Linked DNA regions of Homo sapiens: region 1 is linked to region 2. Evidence: promoter capture Hi-C in 16 types of primary human blood cells and fetal thymus (Javierre and others, 2016). All regions are on one chromosome and are shown on one strand. Each heading gives the region's core, a stretch centred on a gene start or on the middle of the fragment in contact. The rest is flanking DNA. Distances are from core to core; before and after follow the strand shown. Region 1 has its middle 9.8 kb from the start of CA10. Region 2 holds the start of TOM1L1 (target of myb1 like 1 membrane trafficking protein).

The links. Contacts are between HindIII fragments. The CHiCAGO score rates a contact against its expected background, and 5 or more counts as called.
Region 1: a contact is called between a fragment that was not itself captured here and the fragment with the promoter of TOM1L1 in region 2, in 1 of 17 cell types (endothelial precursors). The highest score is 5.3, in endothelial precursors.

The regions. Positions count from the first base shown.
Region 1 is chr17:52,164,614-52,172,315 of GRCh38, reverse strand. No RefSeq gene overlaps it. Among named protein-coding and RNA genes, the nearest start is that of CA10, 9.8 kb to the right of the region's middle. The HindIII fragment of the contact is 3,429 bases long and covers 1-3,282 here.
Region 2 is chr17:54,897,998-54,905,705 of GRCh38, reverse strand. TOM1L1 (target of myb1 like 1 membrane trafficking protein) reads right to left here and starts at 4,854. Exons shown (of 16, transcript NM_005486.3): 1 at 4,783-4,854; 2 at 1,914-1,998; 3 at 139-217. The coding sequence starts at 4,840. LOC124904033 (a long non-coding RNA gene) reads left to right here and starts at 4,969. Exons shown (of 2, transcript XR_007065854.1): 1 at 4,969-7,098. RefSeq lists enhancers at 4,540-4,629, 4,650-4,759 and a silencer at 4,840-5,179. The HindIII fragment of the contact is 6,286 bases long and covers 4,312-7,708 here.

The DNA.
Region 1 (7,702 bases), core at 319-2,818, 2.7 Mb after region 2:
TTTTTTGAGAAGGAGTTTCATTCTTGTTTCCCAGGCTGGAGTGCAGTGGCATGATCTCAGCTCACTGCAACCCCCACCTCCCAGGTTCAAGCGATTCTCCTGCCTCAGCCCCCACAAGTAACTGGGATTACAGGTGCACACCACGATGCCCACCTAATTTTTTTGTATTTTTAGTAAAGACGGGGTTTCACCATGTTGGCCAGGCTGATCTTGAACTCCTGACCTCAGGTGATCTGCCCGCCTCGGCCTCCCAAAGTGCTGGGATCACAGGTGTGAGCCACCACACCAGGCCTAACCTCTTTTCATTCCCAGTCCCTCCATACTCTGTGATGCTATTGCTGGATCTCCACCAAGCACATTTCTCTTTTGTCAATTTGCTCCCTATTAGGTTTTTGCCAACAGGGAGTGCTAGAGGGAGCCTAGAAAACAAGAGGTGCAAAGAAAGGACTTGATTCATTCAGTTTTCCATACTGGTTTTGCAATTATCTCCCAGCAACAGCTCTTCACTTCAGCAAGCAGTTGCTTCCACTTTCCAGTTTCTTCCAAAAGTCTCAGAACCAGCTTCCACTAGGTTTCAGTGTCAGCTGAGAGGGAGGCTGTACTCAGAGGTCTGAGTTACAGCTCCTCCTCTGAGCTCTAAGATGCCAGTCCAATGGGATGCACCCTCTCTTGCGAGGTACAGTTCCTAGATCATCAGGGACCCCTCCTCCAGGCTTCTTGGTTCTGATCATCCTAATCTGTTTATGTTGTCTCCCTGGTTATAATGGTGGTAGCTGTTTCCTAGAGTTATTCTCTCTGCATTAACTTGGTGTTTCATGGTGGCTTTTTAGTCCTCCAATGCCTGTTCAACCAATTCTCTACTTTAAATTCTCTCTGAAAAATAACTTGTTGTTTGTGTTCCTGTTCAACCAATTCTCTACTTTAAATTCTCTCTGAAAAATAACTTGTTTGTGTTCCTGGAAGGGCTCTGCTTGGTTTTTTGGATCTGCATTATCTAGTTTGGGTTTCCACCAGAGTAGCCCGAAATGTCTTCCCCTCAGTGTGAATGGTTAGATTGAGATTCTTAAGTTCCCTTACCCCTAGGTACCTTTATTTTAAATTTGGCCATTGCTTTTCCATATGGACAAAGCATCTCCAGCCTGACTCAAGGTTGCACCCTGCTGGTTGCAAATAGACAGCTGGTAGACAGGAGGTGAAAAGAGGCTATCCTGATAGAGCTCAGCTGCCAAACTGTTTGGATAAAATCAGTCCCTGAACCAATAGAGACTCTATTCCTTATACCAATGACCCTTATTCAAACTTTTTACCATTTGATTTTGTGACACTTTCATCCCCTATACCTCATTTGTAAATTTATTTTTTATTTTTATTTTATTTTATTTTAGAGACAGGGTCTTGCTGTGTCACCCAGGCTGGAGTGTAGTGATACAATCAGCTCGCTGTGATCTCAAACTCCTGGGCTCAAGCAACCCCCCCACCTCAGCCTCTTGAGTAGCTGGAACACAGTTACATACCATGGTACCTGGCTAATTTTTTTATTTTCATTTTTGTAGAAATGAGGTCTCACTATGTTGCCCAGGCTGGTCTTGAACTCCTGGTCTCAAGTGATCCTCCCCCATCAGCCTCTTGAAACTCTGGGATTGCAGGCATCAGCCACTATGCCCAGGCCCCCTACACCTCCTTAAGAGCCGTTGTAATTAGAGTATATTAAAATCAATTTTTCTTTGAAAATCTTATAAAACGTCTAATGGTAAATGAGAAGAATTTTAGAGTAGCGCCCACTTTCTACTTGATAGAAAGCCCTATTATTTATCTTTGTTTATTGAGAACTTTCCAACAAGCTAACTCAAGTGATTATTGGTTGAGCTGAATCCAATAACTCAAACATTATTATGGCAACATCTCCAAAATTACTACCATCTTCATCTGAAATGTACTTATGCAAGAGGAGAAAATAGAGCTTATTCTGCTCATTTTATTTCCAGCAAAAATTGACTGAAGTATAAAGGGCAGGTTGCCAGTCTGTTTCCCATTTCATGGGAAGGAAAATGAGAAACAGCCACCAGAAATTGCTATTTTATCATAAGAAAAGTTGGGCGAACACAGATGAAAACAATATAAGTTTTTACTTTAATAGTTGATCATTTAAAATATATTTAAGATTTCATTCACATTCATTTAAAAATCTATTTTCCTAAAGAAATAATAATTTATGGAACATGAAAATGGAATATCATCTTATATGTAATATTAACTCATACAAGTCTCAAAAGATTCATTAAGGAAAGCATTTGAACTAATGAGATAAGAACCATTACTTAGTCATATGTTTATGTGACATTTACAACAACCTTGATATTTTTCAATACCTGACAATGGCATGTTTATATTTTTGTAGGAAAAACTCTACTCTTTCAACCTTTGATCTCAATTGTTGTTAACTCCATCATAAAATTATGGCTACTCACAATATCTCCTGTCCTGCTGGGCAGGAGGCTCTTTTTGTTTTCGTTAGTTTTCTTCTCTATCTAGTAGCAATCAGAGAACGGATTCAGAAATTTGAGGGTTTTCTGCTATGGTAACTCAACTCTTACTTTATTACATCCACACAATAGAACCAATGAGAAAAAAAAATCTGTTGTTGAAGCTGGATACAATTCAGGAAATCTCATTTGCAGGAGAAGAAAATTAACTAGATCTCTGTAGCAGGGTCTTATCTTCTGTGTTGATTTGGAAATGGAATTCCTTTCAGAGCCCTCCAGTTGCAGTATTCCTCCCTTGCTGAACTTCCTCAATGCTCTGAATAAGTGGCATGTTATTTCACCAAGGATTTGATGTTTAATACTGTTAAGGTGTGTGTTTGTGGTGGTTGGGTGGGGCTGGGAGGATCTCTTTCCCCAAAAGTAGGCTGCAATGCTGGTGAGTGCATACCCAGGACTGAACCTGTGGTCAAAGAATGGCCCTTTAAGGAGATGTGTGTAAAAGCATGGTCTTAAGGCACTTGATCCTGAGATATCTCATACAAACATGAAAGACCCTACATGAATCACTTGACCATGGAAGCAGTGGCCAGGAGCAGAAAGAGAAGGGGAAGGGGCCATGGGCTTGGGGGAGGGAAGACTCTTGTCCCATACCTCTGACTTTTCATAGTGGATATGTCTGCCACACCCATTATTTGTTAATTTTCCTAATAAATAAATGAGACATATAACTCTATAATCTAGCATGTAGACATTGCTGAGTAGAGAACTACAAAGAGTCTTTCAAGTGCAAAATGAAGCTTAAAACTTGTAATTTTAATGCTAATCATTGGGAAGACAATGTAAAAAAATAATCTCAGCAAATAGTTTTAAAACCTAATGTGTCAGTTGCTAACTCCAAAATTATGCAAGCTGTAGTGAAAGCAGACTGTTGTGCTAATTTAAGCCTTTCTTTATACCTAAGAACCATTATGAAACTAAAATATTCTATACTGATCTATAACTGCTACCCGATAGGGCAGTTGGCTCACAGAGAAGAGCGAAGCATTCCTGTTGGTATAAAACTTCACTGGAAATTGCTTAATGTAAAATAAACACACACCACCCCATCACACCCGCACACATACACACACACAAATGGTCAGGTAGAGTTGAAAGTGCATTGGACAGAAAGAGACAATCTAAGAAAAATGTCTCCCACTAAAATGCCTGGTTTTGGCTAATACATTTGCCATCTATGTTTCAGCTGTTGCACTGTGTTACTTGGTCACAAAAGAAATAATGATGGGAATGGAAGGTTTATAAAAACTAATAATTAACTAGGAAGGCTGAAATTCTGGCCCTGCCCCTGCTTTTGCCTTTGTTGAACTCGGACACATCACTTGACCTAATCTTAAGCCTCCATCTTCCCACATAAAAAATAAGGGGGTTGGACTACATTAGGACTGAAAGTATATTAATGTGCACTTACAATGTATTAGGAAACATTTATCATCAAATTCATTACAAAAAATGGAAGAAAAGTGGATTTATTTGAATAAACAAATAAACAAACCTATTCAATTTTTCAGCAATCTTTTACAGAATGCCTGCTATGTACTCATTGCAAATAAGTCTTCCATTTTTAAGATCTTGAGTTAAGGAGACTGGATATATGAGAGAAATTCAATAAAAAGGAGAAAAGTGTAACATGAGTTTCACTAACTTTCAAAATGATGCCCAAAGCCTTAGCCCAAGTGCCACAATCTTAATGTGAACTATTTCATCAAATTCTTTATCCATCTGCCAAAATATAAATAGTAAATAAGGTATAGCATTTTAATTCTTTGACGTTGGACACAAATTATAGTATGGGTGAGAAGAAAGCCTATTTTGAAAATATAATGAGCACTGGTGGTAATTAAACTATTATCTATTCCGATATCAAAGAGAGGTAAATAATCTATTCTCCTAGTGGTATGTGTCATTTCAGCATCCTCACATTCTTTGTCCAGAGAAATGAACTGTATCCACTCAAATACCTTAACATTTCCTCTTGATAGACTCATTTATAGAGAACAAGGTCTCATACCAATTCCTCAAATAACTCACATGAACTCACTATTGAAAAATGTAAGGTACATTACTGTATAGATTAAAAAGTGGCAGCTTTTTTTTTCAATTACTTTATGAGAAGCTCCATTGATCTACACTTGGCACTCTTCATGTGACCCAAATCAATCTGCTTGTGATAGGTAGAATAATGACCTCCTAAAGATGTTAACATCCTAATCCCTGGAGCATGAGAATGTGTTACTTTACATGGCAAAAAAGATTTGACAGATGTTATTAAATTAAGGTTCTTGTGATGGAGACTATTTTGAAATATCCAGTTGGGTTCAATGTAGTCATAAGAATCCTTATAAGGAAAAGAGAAACTCAGAGGAGAAGAGGTGAGGATGAAAGCAGAAAGTAGAGTAAAATCATTTCTGGAAGACAGCCATGAGCCAAGGAACATAAACAGTATCTAGAAGACAGCAAAGGCAGGAAAAATGTTCTCCCTGAAAGCCACCACAAAGAATCTGCCCTGCCGATTTGTTTCAGATTTCTGACCTTCAGAAGTCAAAGATACATTTTTTTGTTTTAGAGCCTTATGGTTGGCGAATGCATCCATGTGCTGAGAGTGTGGCACATCCTAACTCCATGGGAGAAGCTCCTGGGCTCAGGGCCCTTCTGGACCTTGTCCTATCTACCGCTTCATTGGTATGTTTTATGATAAACCAGTAAATTTAAGTACAAATAAATATATAATAAATAAATAAATGCATTTTTGTTATTTTACTAAGTATGTAATAATTTATTGCAGCAGATATAAGAAGCTAATACACAGCTTGACAGCCCCAATCTTCACACTGGATAGCAGATTACTAGTCCTCCTTTTGAAGTTCTTATTTCCCTATTAATTTTTTTAAAAATATAATGGTCATACACTTTCTTCAGTGTTTTTATTTCCACCTGACCTTCGTCTACACTGAATATCTTTTAATTTTTTTATTTTTAGTGTTTATGGATATGTAATGGGTCTATATATTTAAAGAGTACATGAGGTATTTTGACAAAGGCATGCAATGTGTAAAACTCACATCAGAGTAAATGGGGCATAGGGTACCCATTACCTCAAGCATTTATCATTTACAAACACTCCAATTATACTTTTTAAGTTATTTTTAAATGTACAATAAATTATTATTGACTGTAATCACTCTGCTATGCTATCAAATATTAGATCTTATTTATTCTATCTAATTATATTTTTGTGCCCATTAACCATCCCCACTGCCCTTCCCAGCCTCTAGCAACTATCATTCTACTCTCTATCTTCATAAGTTCAATTGTTTTCTTTTTTAGCTCCCACAAATTAGTGAGAACATTTAACATTTGTCTTTCTGTGCTGGCTTATTTCATTTAAAAAAACCCTATGATTTTATCCATGTTATGTCAAATGACAAGCTATCATATGTTTTATGGTTGAATAGTACTTACTGTATATATGTACCACACTTTCTTTATCCATTCTTATGTTAATGAACCTTTAGGTTGCTTCCAAATCTTCAGTATGGTAAATAGTGTTGCTATAAACATGGGAGTGCAGATATCTCTTCTATATACTGATTTTCTTTCTTTTGGGTGTATTACCTTAAGGGTGGGATTGCTGGATTCTAGTTAGGTCAGTGCAAAAGTAATTGCAGTTTTGCCATTACTTTCAATGGCAATCACTTGCATAACTAAAAAAAAAATATGGTAATTTTTTGAGGAATCGCCAAACTGTTCTCCATAGTTATTATACCAATTTACATTCCAAACAACAGGATATGAAGTTCTCTTTTCTCCATATCCCCACCAGTATTCATTATTGCCTGTCTTTTGGATAAAAGCCATTTAACTGGGATGAGATGACATCTCATTGTAATTTTGATTTGCATTTCTCTGATGAACAATGATATTGAACATCTTCTCATATAGCCATTTGCCACTGGTATGTCTTCTTTAAAGAAATATCTATTCAGATCTTATGCCCATTTTGAAATCAGATTATTAAATTTTTTTCCATTGAGTTGTTTGAACTCCTTATATATTTTGGTTATTAATTCCTTGTCAGATAGGTAGTTTGGAATCCCTACTAACTCTTGGGGAGTCCCTTCGGGGTTGATTCATCTGTTCATAATCCCTGTTATCACCAGTGTCTTCACCATCCCCCACCTCTGTTCTGCCACAGGTCTGCCCTTTGTGTCGCTGTCCATTCTACTCCATGATTTGAGGTACCACCAAGGTTTGTTTCCGCTTCTCCTACCATCTCCACATTGGTTTCAGAACTCTGGCAATTCCCCTCATCATTTTAGTCCATGCGTTTGCAGGGAATTTTTCCAAAATAAGTTACAATGTTTATAAATAGTTATCTGAAGAGCTGGTAGAAAGGAATAACATTGAGGCTAACTTGTCACTGGTTACCAGATGTGATTACTCTCAGATCAGAGTTACATTGCCAATTTTATTAGGTCACTTCAGTGTACATTTCTGTCTTATAAAGCCTTCTTCCCTGACTAGCTCACAGCCCACAACCCAATCACAGTATTCAGCTTTCCCAGCACCATTATACATGCCCGCGAGTGTACATAGACACTTTAACCTATCATCCTTGCTCAATGAACAAAGCATTTGTTGCTAAGCCACAGTCTAAGGCTCATCTTTCGAGTCTTTATTTCTATCCCAAGATCTGCCTCTCTCCAAGTCTGGCAAACCTGGGTATTTTCCACTGTCTCCAAAGGAAATCTGCCCAGTTAATAATGGAATTTTACCCTATGGTACCAACAGGATAATTACTTTATAATATAATAATCCAATACCTGTAAAGCAGATAAAGATATAGCTACAACATCAGAGCTATTTGTTTTACACCAGAGCTTACAAATTGCGGAGACATACAACTCCTTTTAATATTTCTCAAAGTTTAAGTAATTTAGTAGTAAGTAACATCTTGTGCAGAGAAACAACAGTTCGGTAATGTTGAGTTTCTCTAAGCCTAGTCCAGCCACACTTTTAAAAATATCTATTTATAATTACAGTTTCTGCCTTATATTTTCAAAAAACTAATTCATTCATTTGGCTGGATTATTATCAGGTATAACTGACCTAAAACAAACTGCATGTGTTTAAAATGTATATTTTGATAATTTCTGACATAT
Region 2 (7,708 bases), core at 3,605-6,104:
TAAGTCATACTGTACACAACTCCTAGCTAACCTATTAGTTTTCTCAGAATACTTGCTTCTTATTTTTTACCCAGGATTAAAAATGTAACTATAGCTTGAGAAATCCTCGAGTCTTAATTATAAAATTAAAGTACTTACTGACAAGGTAAGTTGGATTTCTTTATGATTGTAGTTTTTGGAAATCCTTTTCTTCAAAGCTTTCACTGCATCTTTTGGCCTATAGCAATAAATACACTGAAATCACCAATTTAGGCATTGCTGAAAACAAGCAGTCTCTCTGAAAAGCAACATGCATTTGGAGAGAGGAATGGCTAAGGAGCAGAAAACTAAGGCCTTGGTTCTACTGTGGGACCCTATGCGAATGACTTAACTTCTTGAACCTAAATTTCTTCACGCATACAGGCAGACAATACCACCTAACCCCTTATGAGAATCAAATAAAATATTTTCGTACAAGACTATTACCTAGAAAGTACTACCCATGAAATGCACTCATTCCTGTATCCCTCTATCAATGCACAGAACCAACTTATAGGAAATGCAACTTCCGAAACAATGAATGTTACCATTTTTATTAAAACTATTAGTATTTCCTGAGCACCCTATAGACAAGGGGATGTAACAGGAATTACAACAAACTAGGTCAGCTGCCAATACGCCACAATTTTATGTTACAAAGAAAGGACTGTTTATAAGGGTCCAAATTTACTTTAAGATTCTCTTTTTGTATTATCAATGAATTGGTATTATCAATGAAAATGTTCCCAGAGGAACTAAACATGGTAAATAGGATTATAGGAAAAAAACCATACACACTTAAAAGTACTAACCATAAGCGCTTTCCATTTATTTATAATCAATAATTAAGTTTGATGTTTTCTTTATCAACATAAGCTAGACTAAATCTCTTTTACTGCCAGTTATCACTTTAATATGCCCAGGAAAATTACCAGAATTGTGTTCCTTAGAATAACTTGTAATTGACTACAAGCAAACCAGTTTGCTCTTCTTAATGACTTTTTTCTTATAACTTCGATTCTCGAAAGTTTAAGAAGTTTAAGAACAAACGATAGCACATGCTATAAGAATACAGCTTAAACATGGGTGAGTTGACATTCAGAAGGAAAAAAATTGTCCTGGGACAGGGAGGAAAAAAGACTGCTAGATTGTTTCCTGGTTACTAGAAATAATTGCTCAGAAATAGGTCACCACCGGGAGTCAACCAGCTTCTTGATAATATTTGATGGTTTCATCAAATACTGGCACTGGGAGCTGGAGATATTCCTAAAGAAGGACACAATCTCTCTTTTTCAATTTTTTTTTTTTTTTTTTTTTTGAGATAGAGTCTTGCTTTGTTACCCAGGCTGGAGTGCAGTGGCATGATCTCTGCTCACTGCAAGCTCCACCTCCCAGGCTCACGCCATTCTCCTGCCTCAGCCTCCCAAGTAGCTGGTACTACAGGCACCCGCCACCATGCCTGGCTAATTTTTTTTGTATTTTTTAGTAGAGATGGGGTTTCAACGTGTTAGCCAGGATGGTCTCCATCTCCCGACCTCATGATCCGCCCGCCTCGGCCTCCCAAAGTGCTGGGATTACAGGCGTGAGCCACTGCGCCCGGCCTTTTTCAATCTTTTAGAAGGAAGGAATTTGAGCTTCACAGTGACAAAATTTGAAACTATTAAAGAAACTGCCAAGAGGAGAAAAATTATAGTGGATTTATGGATACTCCACATGTTGAAGCAAGCAGCTGCCCCAATATTTCAACCTGACAAGTCTTCAAAAGATAGAGGGTGCCTAATGAATGATGAAAACACTCTTTCAACAACAAAACCGAAATATTTGCAAGAGAAAACGTGCTGTAGTTCTGATGCTTCTTGTCAGAGGCAAATACATGGAAACCATGCTGTACTCACCCATCCTGGGTAGTGTTAATTATGTCACAGATGTGCATGAACTGGCCCCAATCTTCAGTCTGAACTCCAGCAAATGTAGCCTTTTCTGCCAAGAAAAAGCTGTTGAGTCTGAGCTACAACAGAATAAAAAATGTCTGGTATTCCTGAAATAATCTGCCTAGGCTGCACCAGCAAGTGTCATTAAGTTTACATTGCCAAAGGGCAAAGTGATTTTTTTTGGAACAGTTCTCAGTAATTCAGGAATCAATCAGAACCCAAGTTCAGAGTGCTGCTGCAGCAACAGTAATGAGTGACCTATTAATAAAGACCTCAAGCACAACAGCTGGCCACAGGCCCAGGCCAGGCCAGCTAAATCTCCGCCTGCCTGGCTTTCAGAGAAGGGAACTAGGGCTTAGTGAGCAGCTACCTAGAAGGTGAACTGCATAGTGCTAAGTATTTTATCATACGCAATTTCATTTAACCCACTGTGAGAGATGATGAGATAGAAGTTCAGAGAGGTTAGGAAATTACCAAAGTTATACAGTCAGTATGAAGTAGAATTGGCATTCAAATCTAGGTTGTTTGGTCCCACTGTTTGTTTTTAAAAATAATTTATTCTCTGGGGGGACAGGAGGAAAGAACTTTTAAAGGAGAGAAGTAATCCGTTGTTCTTAGGAGCCAAAACATTGGCACAACTCCAAATAAAAGTAATACGTTTATTGTCCTATCATCTTAATCTCACGATTCCTTCTAATTTTACCAATTATTATAACTTCAACCAATACTTGCAAAGACACTGCTTACCTCAACTATGTAAAAACTTCCATTGCATACACTTTTACTTTCAGCCTTAATTATTTCAAACTGGCGCTGGATAACTATCCGAACTAATAATAATAAGCATCTAAACTAACCACAGCTGCACCAGGCTGACCAGAATGCTTCTGCACTTGGAACCCTATGATTAGATAATCAGGCATCTTTCCCTCTCCAGACAGCCGCTTTAAGAATACAAGATGTTATCTGGAAAGGGTAATGGAACACTCAGTATGAATGCGCTAACATCTTCCTAAGAGAAGGACAAGATCCCTAAGCATGAAAACACCGGGTTCTGGGGGAAATGGAGAAAAAAACAAAAAAGATAGAGAAGGGGAAGAATAAGGACTTGCTTGGGGGAACCCCAAAGTTTAGCTTGCTTTCAATCCAGGAAAAGAACCACTTGAGGCGGGGCCCGGTGGCTCCCGCCTGTAATCCCAATCACTTTGGGAGGCCGAGGTGGGTAGATCACCTGAGGTCAGGAGGTCGAGACCAGCCTGGCCAGCATGGTGAAACTCCATCTCTACTAAAAATACAAAAATTAGCCTGGCGTGGTGGCATGTGCCTGTAGTCCCAGCTACTCGGGAGGCTGAGGAAGGAGAAGTGCTTGAACCCGGTAGGCGGAGGTTGCAGTGTGCCGAGAGCTACTGCACTCCAGCCTGGGTGTCACTCCCCGTCTCAAAACAAAAACAAAAACAAAAACAAAACAACAACAACAAAAAACTTGAATCTGGCACCGAATGGACAAAGCTTACCTCCCTAGAAAAGAAAACTCCTATTCACCCTTCAAAAGCCACGCAGAATTCATTTCTCCCTTCTCCTAAGTTTTGTGTGTTTTGCATTTTCTTGCATTGCAAAGGTGCCACACAAAACTGTGCCCGTCTTCTCTACAAGAAAGTGAGTTCCCTCAGGTTTGAGACCACGTCTCACCTTGGCCTCACCAGTGCCTGATCCAGGTCCAGGCACATAGCTGACAGTTAGTCCATGTTTACAGAATTAAAAAATTAAGCAGAAGAACTGCTGAAGTTTCGTTTGCCTATGAAGACACAGTCTGAATCCATTTCTGCTTGGGGTTCATTCTAATATCCAAAAAAGCACAGCCATTAAGGGAAAGCATCTCCTCAATGGTAGCTACTCTGACCATCTTATAAGGATGTGTAAACTAAGGTTCTGTTTAAGTGGTGTGTTCGGTGTCACAGCAGTTAGTAGAGCTGTGATCTAAATTTTCCAAATCTGGGCCTCTTTACTACAACTACTAGGTTCTCACGATTTCATCACCCCACTAAGTTCCTGACATCATCACACTTTGCCTGGCATTAATATGCACTCGTGCCACACCCAATTCCCAAGGGAGGAATCAGGGAAAAGAAGGAGCAGTGAGCTGGTGCTGGTAGGAGTCCAATCACTGGCTTCTACATACATCATGCAAGGTACATCCGGAGGAGAGAGAAATCATTTAGGTGGATGCTGGTGTAGTCCCTAGTGGCCTGCGAGAGACCTCCGTGGCCCCAGATGGCTCCTATGTTCCCCTCCTCTTCACTCCAATGCCAAGCATTTTCATTCTCTTTGTTTACCCAGAAAAGTAATCCAGGTTGTATAAGCTTGGCACTAGAGAAAACTGGTTTGGGGAGACCTGCCCCTCACAGTAAGGCCACATCACTTAGTCTCCCAGAGCCTCCTCTTCTGATCTGTAAAACGGGCATAACAATACCGTGCCCTGGAGAATGTGCCTTTAGGAATAACTTCCCCTACCGAGAAGTTTCTGGTGTCTCCTCGTGGAGGCCCAAACACTCCATGCCTGACTCCCGCGGTTCACCTGTTTGGTTCCACTCCCCAGGCGGCATCGAAAGGAAGGTACATTTTTGAGGACTGAGGTTCTACAGTGAGTTGGCCAAGAAGGAAACGACGAAAGGGGGCCGGGTGGAATGCGGGTGCCTTGGGAAAGTTGCGGGGGGAGGGGAATAATTTTTTCAAGTTGGACTAACTCCGTCCTCTGCAGGCCGAGAATGGATCAAGCAGGAAAGGATCCCACGGTCCCCTGCCTGCCTGGGCGTCTCTCCCCGCGCCTCCTTACCTATGAGGTGGCCCACGGAGGTCGCGTAGGGATCCCGGTGACTCTTGCCAAACGCCATGGTAGCGCCAGAGGGCCGGGCCCAGGAAATCCGCCTCCACCGCTCTCCGGCTCCCGACTCCACCCGCTCGGTACCCTTGGCTCCTCCTCTTCGCCCGAGCGCTTCCCGGGCTCTGGCAGAGGCGGTGCGTTCTGCGCTGCCGCTGCGGGGCGCGGGCACCGAGCGTGAGGAGCTGGGCGCGGGGCAGGGACGCGAGGGCGGGGCTTCGGGACGCCCAGCGCACCTGCAGCGCGCCCTGCGGGACCCGCGAGGAGGCTGCGCTGCCGGCTGCAGGTGGTACAGGCGGGTAGTGGCGGGTGTATGGAGCCTGCGAGAGTGGCGCGGCCGCCCGCTCGGATCCCAGGTGGGCTTTTCGCCCCGTGCAGGAGGAGCAGGCAGCCCAGAATCTCCAGCCTGGGAATTAGAGACCCAGGCTTTGATCCTGCCGCTTGCTGGGCACCTTGTCATTCTTCTCTGCGCCTCTTTGGCTGCCCTGGGTAGACCAAAGATAATAGGGGGTTAATAACACAAACCTCAGAATTATGAGAATTAAGGGAAGGACGTAACCGATTATGTCGGTGTCTGGTACCCACAAAATAAATAGTTAGCCACTGAATATACTGAATAACTAGAAATATTTACCCTCGACCTGCCTTTGTCCTAGAGATCCGGGAGGGGAGGTGTGCGCCCTGCCCTTTAAAGTTGTGGTCATGTCTAGGAGGAAGGATTGGCTTCGAATTTAGGGCTTCCCAGGAGCAGGCCCTCTTTGTCTCTCTACTATTTCCTCGAGGGACCACAGGGCGCCGCCTCGCAAGCTCTTGTTTTCTAACCCCACCTTCTGGGAGCCGTGTTTTCCAGCCTGATTCTAAAAACGGGAGAGGGGCTTTCCGTTTCTTCTGGCAAGGAGTATGCTTGGCTTTAGGCCTGCTTTGTAATGTAGGTTGGAATCTGAGAAGCCCAACACCTTTCCAGCTGCCCCTTCAGAACCAGAATTTATTTCCTATTCCTTTGCATTCAATTAACATCTGATTGGCGATGTTAACAATCTCCAGCCAGCAGGAGCCTGCCAGAGAGTGAGGTGTCCCCAGGCGATGTCAGATAGCCATAGATGAGCTCCTGGTGCTTGTAGATCCTGTTTCCTGTAGTCTAACTGCCACCCATTTCAAGTCTGTTTTTTAGCCCTGGAGATGGTGACTAGGGAGACGAAGGGGACCTGTTTTGACTTATGTCCGTGGTCTTGTGAATTTTAATATAGAGGTCAAAACCAATTGCCATGCACTCCAGGAGGCTAACATTTAATTATCTGTAACTCAATTATTTATAATTTTTCTTGACCAAAGTGAGCCAAAACCTGGGATTCTAAAATCTAGAATGAAATATTCTTGTTGTGATGATATGTCTCATAATGGGATTTGTCCCACGTGTAACTAATATTCTCCACCTGCCTATTCAGGGCGAGTAGCTATTTCAGATGTTGCCGTTTATCAACTTCCTTACTCATCACTATAGCCTCTGCTGACACTGTTGAAAACCTCTTTTGTGACATCACCAACCTAATCTGTATTCCATGCCTCTAGCAAAATATTTTGCCTTTTCTGCAACCTAGAATCAACCTACAATCTCTGAAAAAGAAAACCAATTTTAGCTTAGGCCAATGTTGGTGTCAGTGGCCTTCTATCAGTTAATGAGAACGAGAAAGGAACCGAGCATCCAGAGAGATAGATTTTTAACATACTTCTATGTGGGAGGTTTTTCTTTTCGTCTTCTTCTTCTTCTTTTTTTTTTTTTGTTTTTTTCTCCTATGTCTGATTTCCTTACATGACAGGACTGAGGCACCGAGAAAGAGGAGAAACAGTAGCAAGGAGTGTCTTCTGGACTTGATGCTTGGGTGAACAGAACCAAGGTTGATGAGTGCTACCTGTGTTCTATCTCAGCAATGCCTGGCAGAAGTTTTTCTCTCTCCCTGTGCCCTCCAGGGTGTTGTGGTGGTTGTTGCAGCCTTCTCTTCCTGTACTCTGTTCCGTTCTGCATGATCCCTCTTCTCTCCAGGCATGAAAATCAACGTGGTTAATGTTAGTAAAGTCTAGCAGCGGGGACAATAGAATTCACAGCTAAGTTGAGGTCAGAGAAGGAGCAGAATCCCACAGGGGTAAAATGACACCAGGAGTAAAATCTTACCACAATTTCAATTCCAAGAACACTTAGTCAACATTTATTTATGTAAAATGTGCTAAGTGTCTGCAACTAGAAATCTATCTTAATCTTCACAATCCTGAGAGGTGGGTAGTATTAACCTCATTTTTACAAATATATAATCTGAGATTCAGAAAGATCAAGTTTATAAATGGCTTCACTAAAGTTTGACTCATGGCTGCCTGGTTCCAAAGCCTATATTATTGTCACTAGGTGAATCTGTTTATTGAGCCTGATGTCTTGCTTTTTTAAAGGATCTGCTTGATTCAGTGCAAGACCTCTTGAAGAATACAGGAATAGGGGAAGTCATATACTTTGCTGGCACAAGGTCCTGCTTTTTTTCTGTTCTTGTTCAATAGCGAATATTTTTTGTGCTAGAACTATATGCCAGATATGTTCTAAACATATTACATGCGTTATCTCATTTAATCACATAATAACGTTATGAGACCAGTACGGTTATTACTTTATTTTTCATGTTAGAAAAACCAAAGTAATGGCTGGGCGCGGTGGCTCACACCTGTAATCCTAGCACTTTGGGAGGCCGAGGCAGGCATATCACCTGACGTCAGGAGTTCAAGACCAGCCTGGCCAACATGGTGAAACCCTGTCTTTACTAAAAATACAAAAATTAGCTGGGCATGGTGGCAGGTGACTGTAATTCCAGCTACACGGGAGGCTGAGGCAGGAGAATCG